Regions from separate parts of the Homo sapiens genome. Here region 2 is linked to region 1. The links are contacts of gene promoters, found by promoter capture Hi-C in human tissues and cell types (Jung and others, 2019). All regions are on one chromosome and are shown on one strand. The core of a region is centred on a gene start or on the middle of the fragment in contact, and the rest is flanking DNA. Distances in the headings are between cores, read along the strand shown. Region 1 holds the start of FBXO6 (F-box protein 6). Region 2 overlaps PEX14 (peroxisomal biogenesis factor 14).

What was found. The method cuts DNA at HindIII sites, captures the fragments that hold promoters and counts their contacts. A contact is called where the count stands out against the background at its distance.
Region 2: a fragment that was not itself captured here is called in contact with the fragment with the promoter of FBXO6 in region 1 in 1 of the 25 tissues and cell types used here (aorta).

What each region holds. Positions count from the first base shown.
Region 1 is chr1:11,661,853-11,666,303 of GRCh38, reverse strand. It overlaps FBXO6 (F-box protein 6), which reads right to left and starts at 2,104. Exons shown (of 6, transcript NM_018438.6): 1 at 2,049-2,104. It overlaps FBXO44 (F-box protein 44), which reads right to left. Exons shown (of 6, transcript NM_033182.7): 6 at 2,977-4,451. RefSeq lists an enhancer at 1,529-1,578 and silencers at 1,699-1,768, 1,819-2,038. The HindIII fragment of the contact is 9,200 bases long and covers 1-4,115 here.
Region 2 is chr1:10,517,635-10,522,820 of GRCh38, reverse strand. All of the region lies in intron 2 of PEX14 (peroxisomal biogenesis factor 14), which reads right to left. Among named protein-coding and RNA genes, the nearest start is that of PEX14, 45 kb to the right of the region's middle. The HindIII fragment of the contact is 4,142 bases long and covers 819-4,960 here.

The sequences.
Region 1 (4,451 bases), core at 855-3,354:
TGGCGAGTGCCTATGGTCCTAGCTACTTGGGAGGTTATGGCGTCAGGATCTTCTGAGCCCAGGAGGTCAAGGCTGCAGTAGCTCACAGGTGTGAGCCACCGAACCCAGCCCCTCAGATTTTTCTACCTTACAGTCCATGAGGCCTGCCGAGGTCACACTCTAGGGAAAGAAGGAGCCTGCTGGAGCAGAGTGAGCCATGATTGCTCCATGGCACTCCAGCCTGGGCAACAGAGCAAAACTGTCTCAAAAAAAAAAAAAAAAAAAAAGAGAAAAGAAAAATGCTTTGATGGAAAAAAAAAATAACAAAAAAACCCAATGTGGCCAAGTCTTCTAAGTTCTGAGAAGCAACTGTAAGCATTTGAAAAAAAATGTAAAAGTTGTCAATTAAAAATGCTTGTAGTCTAGGCAACATAGTGAGACTCTGTCTCTAGAAAAAAAGAAATTAGGTCGGGTGCACAGACTCAGGCCTGTATTCCCAGCACTTCGGTAGGCCGAGGCGGGCGGATCACAAGATCAGGAGTTCGAGACCAGCCTGGCCAATATGGCGAAACCCCGTCTCTACTAAAAATACAAAAATTAGCTGGGCGTGGTGGCGGACGCCTGTAGTCCCAGCTACTCGGGAGGGTGAGGCAGGAGAATCACCTGAACCCGGGAAGCGGAGGTTGCAGTGAGCCGAGATCGTGCCACTGCACTCCAGCCTGGGCAACAGAGTGAGAATCTGTCTCAAAAAAAAAAAAAAAAAAAAAAAAGGCCGGGCGCGGTGGCTCACGCCTGTAATCCCAGCACTTTGGGAGGCCGAGGTGGGCGGATCACGAGGTTAGGAGATCGAGACCGTCCTGGCTAACACAGTGAAACTCCATCTCTACTAAAAATACAAAAAATTAGCCGGGCTTGGTTGCAGGTGCCTGTAGTCCCAGCTACTCGAGAAGCAGGTGCCTGTAGTCCCAGCTACTCGGGAGGCTGAGGCAGGAGGACGGCCTGAACCCGGGAGGCGGAGCTTGCAGTGAGCTGAGATCGCGCCACTGCACTCCAGCCTGGGCGACAGAGCGACACTCCGTCTCAAAAAAAAAAAAAAAAAAAAAAAAAAAGAAATTAGCTAGGCCTGGTGGCCCGTGCCTGTAGTCCCAGCTATGCAGGAGGCTGAGGCAGGAGGAACGCTTGAGCCCAGGAAGTCGAGGCTGCAGTGAGCCGTGATCATGCCACTGCACTCCAGCCTGGGTGACAGAGCAAGACTCTGCCATAAATAAATAAATAAATAAATGCTGGCAGCTTCTAAAGGCACTGTCTAGACTCTAGACGAAATAAAAGTCACTGGGCTCCAAGCTAGAGGCATCTAGGCACCAATAGCTTCCCACCGTGGTGACCGAAGTCTGGTCTCTGGCCCAGTCCGCATTTTCTTGCGCCCCTTCCCCCCCCCGGCCCTGGGCATTTTGTGGTGGGGAAGTCCATGCCAGCCCTAGGAAGCCCTCTCACACCGATCGGGGTCCCCAACTGCCCGGCCCGGCGTCTCGTGCTCGCCTTCTCCGCACCCACCCTCCCAGCAAGCTCTAGTGGCATTGTTACTTCACCGGTTTCTCGGAAACAGAAACTGTGGCTGGGGCAAGGCAAGCGCCGGATCTCGCAGGCGTGTGGGGGCCTGGAGGTCCCTTGACAGTTCTCCGAACCCGGCGCCGGCCTCGGGATGTGGCCGGGGTGGAGGCGGCCGCAGAGCCTCCGCCTGGGTGGCCCCGGGGCCAGGCCCCCAGTCGAAGTCCGGGCCCAGCCGCCCGCGCCCCCCACCCCTGGCCGCCCGGACCAGCGCCCGCAGGCTCCGTGAACGCCCAGGCGCCGGAGACCCCGGCTCCCCACTCGCCCGCCGCCCGTCCCCCCGGGGACGCGACCTGGGCGCAGCGGCGGAGCTCCAGGTCGGCCCGAGCCTACGGCCTCGGCTTCGTTGTCGCTGGGCCCCGCCGCCGCGTCACGCGCTGCGCTCGGTCCCCACCCCCGCCCCGGACCCCGCTGCCGTCCCTCTCGGCCCGGCCCCTAACCCTCGCCGCGGGAAGACGAACCTGGGATCCCCAGGGCCCGGGCCCTCGCTGCGGCCTGCGTGTCCTGAAGCTGTCTCCCCCTCCAGGCGGCGGGCGGCTCAGCACCCACACCTGCACCCGCCTCCTACGCAGGGCCGAAGCTCCCGAACGCGCGGCCGCTCCCCGGACCTCCGCACTAGTTCCTTCCTTATGCGGCCCAGGGCTCCACCCTTGACCCGCGGTCCCCTCCCTAGAGGCAGGACCTGACACCCAGTGGGCTCCTTCTTTCCCTAGGGCGTGACCTCCGCAGGCTTCATAGACTCAAAGGTAAAAAACCTGAGGTGCTAGGAGGTGGCTAACGCCTGTGATCCCAGCACTTTGGGAGGCCGAGGTGGGGAGGATCGCTTGAGGTCAGGAGTTCGAGACCAGCCTGGCCAACATGGCAAAAACCCTGTCTCTACTAAATATACAAAAATTAGCCGGGCGTGGTGGCACAGGTCTATAATCCCAGCTCCTCCGGAGGCTGAGGTGGGAGAATCGCTTGAACCTGGGAGGCTGCAGTGAGTGGAGACTGTACCACTGCACTGCAGCCTGGGCGACAGAGCCAGACCTTGTCTCAAAAAATAAAAAACCTCTGAGGTTTTTTATCAGGATTAAGTTCATGAATTTCTTCCATCAGTCAACAAATATTTAGCAAGCACCTTGTTCAGGCAACCACCAAGGGTTGTGCAGGCTGTGTACTGCACAAGGGGACTGGCCCAGGACACATTAATTGCAGTCAGGGCTACATGTTCTCCGTGGAAGGCCGTCCTTTTGCAGTTTGCCATGGGCTGGTGGGTGGTGATCCTGCCCTGGCCAAAGCCCTTATCTAGCTCACCCTTGACTGAGATAGCTAAATGTGAGGAGTACTTATTGAGCACTGGATTATAGTCCATGTTCACACTGCTATAAAGAAATACCCGAGACTGGGTGATTTATAAAAGGAAAGAGGTTTAATTGACTTATAGTTCCATATGGCTGGGGAAGCCTCAAGAAACAATCGCTGGGCGCGGTGGCTCACGCCTGTAATCTCAGCACTTTGGGAGGTCGAGGTGGGTGGATCACGAGGTCAGGAGATTGAGACCACCCTGGCCAACATGGTGAAACTCCATCTCTACTAAAAATACAAACAAAATTAGCCGGGCATGGTGGTGGGCGCCTGTAGTCTCAGCTACTCCAGAGGCTGAGGCAGGTGAATGGCGCGAACCTGGGAGGCAGAGCTTGCAGTGAGCTGAGATTGCGCCACTGCACTCCAGCCTGGGCGACAGAGCGAGACTCCATCTCAAAAAAAAAAAAAAAAAAAAGAAAAGAAAAGAAAAAAGGAACTTACAATCATGGTGGTGGAAGGTGAAGGGGAAGCAACGACCTTCTTCACATGGCGGCAGGAGGGAGCCGGGGAAACCGTCACTTGTAAAACCATCAGATCTCGTGAGAACTCACTCACTATCATGAGAACAGCATGGGGGAAAACCGCTCCCATAATCCAATCACTTCCCACCAGGTCTCTCCCTAAACACCCAGGATTACCATTCAAGATGAGATGTGGGTGGGGACACAAAGCTTAACCATATCACGCACCAACTGTGTGCCAGGCACCATTCTAAATGCTTCGGCTTCATCCAATGTCCGTAAAGCTGTTGGCAAAGAGTAACACCAGGAGGCAGAGCCTGGGTGGCACTGCTGATCTGGCACAAGGTGGACTCAAGAGCTGCCCAGAGATGTCCACACACCCCAACCCCAGCCTGTGGCTGGGCCTCCAGAGGAAGCCAGCAGTACTGGACGGCTGCCAGGTGAGATACCTGCAGCTCACTGAGGGGTCTGCCCATGAACCTGTTTCTGTGATGGCCTGGTTCCTGAAATGCCAACCCCTCTGTACCTTAGACAGAAGCCATGCCATTGTACCATCTGCAGGTCCAGGCAGGACCACCTAAAGTCTGCCTTTCCTTCCAGAAACCACAGGGCACAGGTTAGACTGGGCACACCTTTTATTTGGCTGCATGCAGTAGGGCGAAGTCAGGAGAACACTGCTATCTTTCCAGCAGGACAAGAGGCAAGTTCCAAGGGTGGTTGGCTGGGAGACAGAGGTCTTGGGAATGGCAGTTCTAGGGGTGGGGTGGGGGCTTGGAATGCTCTCCAAGCCAGAGGGGGCCGGGCCTGGATTTGGGAGGTGGACAGGGGATTCTTCAAACCCCCTACCATACTCATCCAGGGCTCATGTGTCCAGCTGTCAGAGCAGGTCCCAATCCTGCTCCCCATCTACCCTGGGACATCCTGTACAGGATTCCCTCAGTCCTCTGGGAACCTAACCCCACCTGGTACCCATCTAGCTTCTGGGGCTCCACTGACAGTGAGGACAGTCCACACCCGACCTGGACCCCACCCCACCCTGGGTCTGTCCATCTCAGT
Region 2 (5,186 bases), core at 1,640-4,139, 1.1 Mb after region 1:
TTGTTCTGCTTTCAAATGGCTCCTGATGACCATCCAGAAAACGTAACTATCCAGAATGCCTCATTCTAGGAGGTGCCAGAGATGGTGGTTTTCCTGAATTGAACAAGAACAGCTTTGATTCATGTTAGATTAAGAAGCAGGAAGCCAGAGATTAAATAATGAATAGCTACTGAGCATTCACAGGTCCTCACGGTACACCAGCCACTTGTAAAGTCAAAATAGAAGCAGGAAAGATGCTGTTTGTGCTGTAGCAATCTAAGATGAGGAAACAAGCCAAAAGAGATCTTGAGCCATCTGGTCCCACCCATGACCTAGGGACTCCCCTCTCCAACAACCCTGACAAATGATCAGGAAGCCTCCTCTTGAATGCTCATAATGAGCAGGGAAACTACTCCCTTAAGAGACTGTCAGCTCATTTTCAGGAGTGCCTCTTTAAACTGAGTTGAAATCTACTTTCCTGAACCTCCTAACCATTGGTCCTCGTTCTCTGTCTGGCAACAATATTAATTGATCCACTTTTTGAAACAGTGCTGGGTGAGGAATCAGGATAGACTGCTGTCACTGGCTATCTTTTCTATAAAAGCATTTATTTCCCTTACTCTGCTTAGTAACTAAAGGTGAACACTGGCCTCACTGTGTAACAGTTTCATAAATTCTGCTCTTTCGTTTGGTAAGAGCAGCCTTGCCCTTTCTGGGAGAGCCAAGGCTACACCTGTAATGTCAGAATGCATTAGCAATAATAAAGGCCACGGTAATGCAAGAGCCGACTTCATGAACACGTCATTCCAGAATGGCTAAATTCAATCAAATATGGCAGCGCTTCCTACAACACTACGATCACTGGGGCCAGTGTGTGACGTGGGCCCACTTACTGGAAGCTGTTGGAAAGAGAAAGTGAGCACTCTGCTTTAAGACTAATAGACAGGGTTTTTACCAGCCCACAAGTGGTTCAGCATCCTTCTTTCCCAGGAATTACCTAGAAATTCATTTAACATCTAAAGACTACAAATGAAACTTCAGAAGGTTAAAAGTATATAATGAGAAGGGGCCAAGGGGATGGTATTCACTCAACCTCACCTTAAATATGTATGATTCTTAGGGGGGAAAAAAGTCAACACCCATAAGGTGGTAATCAAAAAGCAAAGCCAAAGATGAGCCAGGTTTAATTCTAACTCAGTCACCAACTTCTTCAGTAACTTTCAGAGCTACTTACCTTTCCCGTTCCTGCTTCCTCATCTGTAAACTGGAACTAATACTGCTTAGAGACTCACAAAGTGGTATAAGGAATAATTAGTTAGCATTTATGTAACACTTTTCATCTTCAAAGTAGGATTACAGACTATAAAGTAGAGTAGATGTGGCTTGAAAAATCTTTTTAAAACCTAAAATAAAGCATGAAAGCAAATTCAGAGAAGTAAACTCAGCTGACATCATCTTAGAGCAGCCAGATAGCTCTGCCTCCACGGGCACCCCCATCTTCCCTAGTCAGTATTTGCATGTGGAGACAAAGGTATAAGGATATTTTATTAGGGAAAATGGGAGGAGATAGAAAGAAGAGAAAAAGGAGAAAGAGAAGGTTAGAGAAAAGGAATGGGAGAAAGTATAAAAGGGAGAAAAGATAAGAGAGAAAAAGAAAAGAAAAGGAGAGAATAGAAAACAGCAAGAAATAAAGGAAGAAAAGACAAATCTTATCCACTAGAAGAAAAACAAAAACAGGAAGAGAGGAAGAAAAAGAGAAATGGAAAAGAAAACTTCTTTAAGGGGATAGTTTTCCTGTTTCCAAAGAAAAAAGAAGATTAAAAAGTAAAAGGAAAGTTCAAAATGTTTAAAAAAAAAAAAAAAGACAACGGCAAAGAGCAGAGGATAGAAAAAGAGAAGATAAAGCTTTCAAGAGTATGTCTGGAAACCAGAAAGCTGGAAGAGAAATCATTAGCAAGTCCATAGTGCGTCTACAGTGATACTGTGTGGATCAATTCATTTAACGCTGCCCTGTACATTTACAGAAAAGTACCTCTGATATAATAAAGGCTCATAAACATGCAGAAATTGGGTTAGACCCGTTTCGAATTCCTGCCAAACAATGGTTCAGAAAAATGAAGCTCTATTTTAATTAGCTGGATTCACGAGTGATTTGATAACAGCAGATGCTGTCTGGATGCTTTCAGCTTGATGGGCTCCACATACATGAACTTAGAGTGGTTTTGATGCAATTAGGTGTTTCTTTCTGCTCCAACATGCCAGGCCTAAGGACCTGAGCCTACGTGTAGCCCCTACATGTTGCTAAATTTATCTTTATGTTAATATTCAAATCATGAAGATGAGAAGGGTGGCCACCATAAGGGAAGTAGAAAAGTAGTTTTCAGGGCCGGCCATGGTGGTTCATGACTATAATCCAGCACTCTGGGAGGCCAAGGTGGGAGGATCACTTGAGGCCAAGAGTTTGAGACCAGCCTAGACAACACAGTGAAATCCTGTCTCTTCAAAAAATTTAAAAATTAGCTGGGCATGTTGGCATATGCCTGTGGTCCTAGCTACTTGGGAGGCTGGGGCAGGAGGATCGCTTGAGCTCAGAAGGTTGAGGCTGCAGTGACCTATGACCGCAGCACTGCACTCCAGCCTGGGGTGACAGAGTGAGACCTTGTCTCTAGTTAAAAAAACAAAAAAAAAAAAAAGAAGAAGAAGGCCAGGCACAACAGCTCATGCCTGTAATCCCAGCACTGTGGGAGACTGAAGTGAGAGGATCGCCTGAGCCCAGGAATTTGAGACCCAGCCTGGGCAACAAAGTGAGACCCTGTCACTACCAAAACATATTATTTATTTAATTTATTTTTATTTTACTCTCACCACTTCTGTTCAACAACAACAACAAAAATTTCAAATGAGCTGGGTGTGGTGGCACACATCTATGGTCCCAGCTACATGGAGGTCGAGGCGGGAGGATCACTTCGGCCGGAAGGTGAAGGCTGCAGTAAGCCGTGTTTGCACACTGCACTCCAGCCTGAGCAGCACAGCAAGTCCCTGTGTCCAAAAACAAAGAAAAGTAGTTTTTAAAAGTCACTAGTAAGTAGAAATGAATATTCTCACAATGAATTCTTCTTTCCACCAGGGAAAGAAAAGTTAGGTAGCTGAGAGAAAGCCACATAGGGCAGTGTCTCTGTAGAAATATTTAATGCCAAGGCTGAAACACAACAGGCTGCACACTTCCAATTTTGCAAGTCCAGCACAGTCTTACACCGAAGGAAGAGTGCACCTAATGCATAGCCTGACCTGGGAAGTGGCCTTCAAAATGTTTTTTGTAATAAGGCATCCTATTATAACCCAGCGCACCATTCCCTGAGACAGGCGGTGGTATTCCGGATCACAACCCTGAAAGTCCGAGTCTTTTCGCCAGGTGCTTTCAAGCCAGGCACCTTACTGCCCCCGCTCTCCCTCTTAAGCACTCTCTCTTCCAAAGAGCATTCTGTTTGCTTTTCCCAAAGCACTCCCTGCCCTCTGCTATGGCCACTTAGTGAGGCACCACCCACACACACAGAGCTGCTAAAGGACTGCATAAAGCCAGAGCAGCTTCCAGCACAGGGCACGCCTAATAGGAGGGTCTGATCTGTTAATTATCTGTCAGTTTGTCACGGCTGGGCTGAGGAGGGGAGAATGATGAAAAGGGGGGTGTTAGGGGGAGGCCCTCTACTCGGTGGTGTGCTACTCTTCCTGAAATTCTGAATTCCGCTTTTGAAATCATTCACCCCCTGTTGGACAACGTGTAGTATACAGGGTGAAGAAGAGAGGATGAGAGTTTGGCTCGACTCCTTTTGACAGAAGTGGGGGCCTCTCCAACTCCACCACTACCACGACAAGCACACGGCAAGAAACACACTCCCTCACTTTCTCTCCAAGAGGACAAAACGGACATAACGACCTTCACACCATCTCTCCCCTTCACCGGCACTAACAAGCTGAGCACTGTAAATCAAGGATGAAATCCTTGTGCCAGGAAGGGAAGGAGAAGCATCTCTTCTGTAAAGAGCCCAAAGATGCTTCGGAATCAGCATTTCGGGCAAGGGCTGGGAACGCAGGAAGCACCATGCAGGCAACTGAAGGAAAAATATATATTTATTACATATAGCAGGCCTCCTTCTTCAAAAGTTATTTATTTCACAAAACCACTCTGCTAAATAGAGATTTCAATCTAATTGGAATTGGAATTTGCATATTGTAAATGCACCAAGTGAGAGTCTTGGACACTTGTGTTCTATTCTACAGTGTAAGGGTTCACCCGTGGATTTCCCAATATATACACTACAAGAATGTAAGAAAAGAGCACAGAGAACTGGCCTTTATATTTTATTTTTTCAGCCCTTCACAGAGGGTCCAGTCTGTGAAACGGGATGACGCTCTCAATATCCCCAAGGAGACAAAACCACTGAGGCAGAGAGGAGGTTCCCCCTGGCATCGGGTTTGCCATCAGCCGTGTGTAGCTGTTCAGTCTTGCAGGTCTGTGGAGCACCCCTGCCCACCACCCGGGGGAGGCAGGGAGTAGACCTCTATTCATCTAACCCTTAACCCTCCCCATCCCATCTACATATCAAATTAGCCATGCTTAATTAACAGAGATGCAAATAGTCAGGGACCGAAATAAAGGTTTTTGACAAGAAGCAAAGAGGGATACTTTTTTTTTAAGGAGAGGAGAGCGAAAAAGCACCCAAAACAAAAGGTCAACCTACAAATAACTGAGGAAATGAGAGAGAAAAGGCACAGGTCAGGACTTCCCATAAAGGTCTGAAATTTTCTGTTTGTAACTCAGGGTTCACATGGAAAAGTAACGCATGACAGAGGAAGAGACACTTCTGGGGAAGTCAAGTTGGGACAAAGGTTCTAGAGTCCACCATTTGCCTGGGACTTACTTCCCTAGACTGCATTCAAATTGGGCTTCTGCTCCCTGCTCCCCTCACTCATTTCAAGAAAGAAATTATTTAATTTTTTTCAAATACTGAATCCCTAAGGCCCAAAGATGTGCCGTTTCCTCAAAAACTAAGCATCTTCTAGTTCACAGCAACTCCTTTCTGCCCCCCATATACTCTGACAATGCTAGCCTCTCGGTCACAGGGTGTAACCTTCATTTAAAAAAAAAAAAAATCACAGGTTCTGCTTCCCATTTAGAAAAAAAAAAAAGAACAAAATGGAAAGAAAGA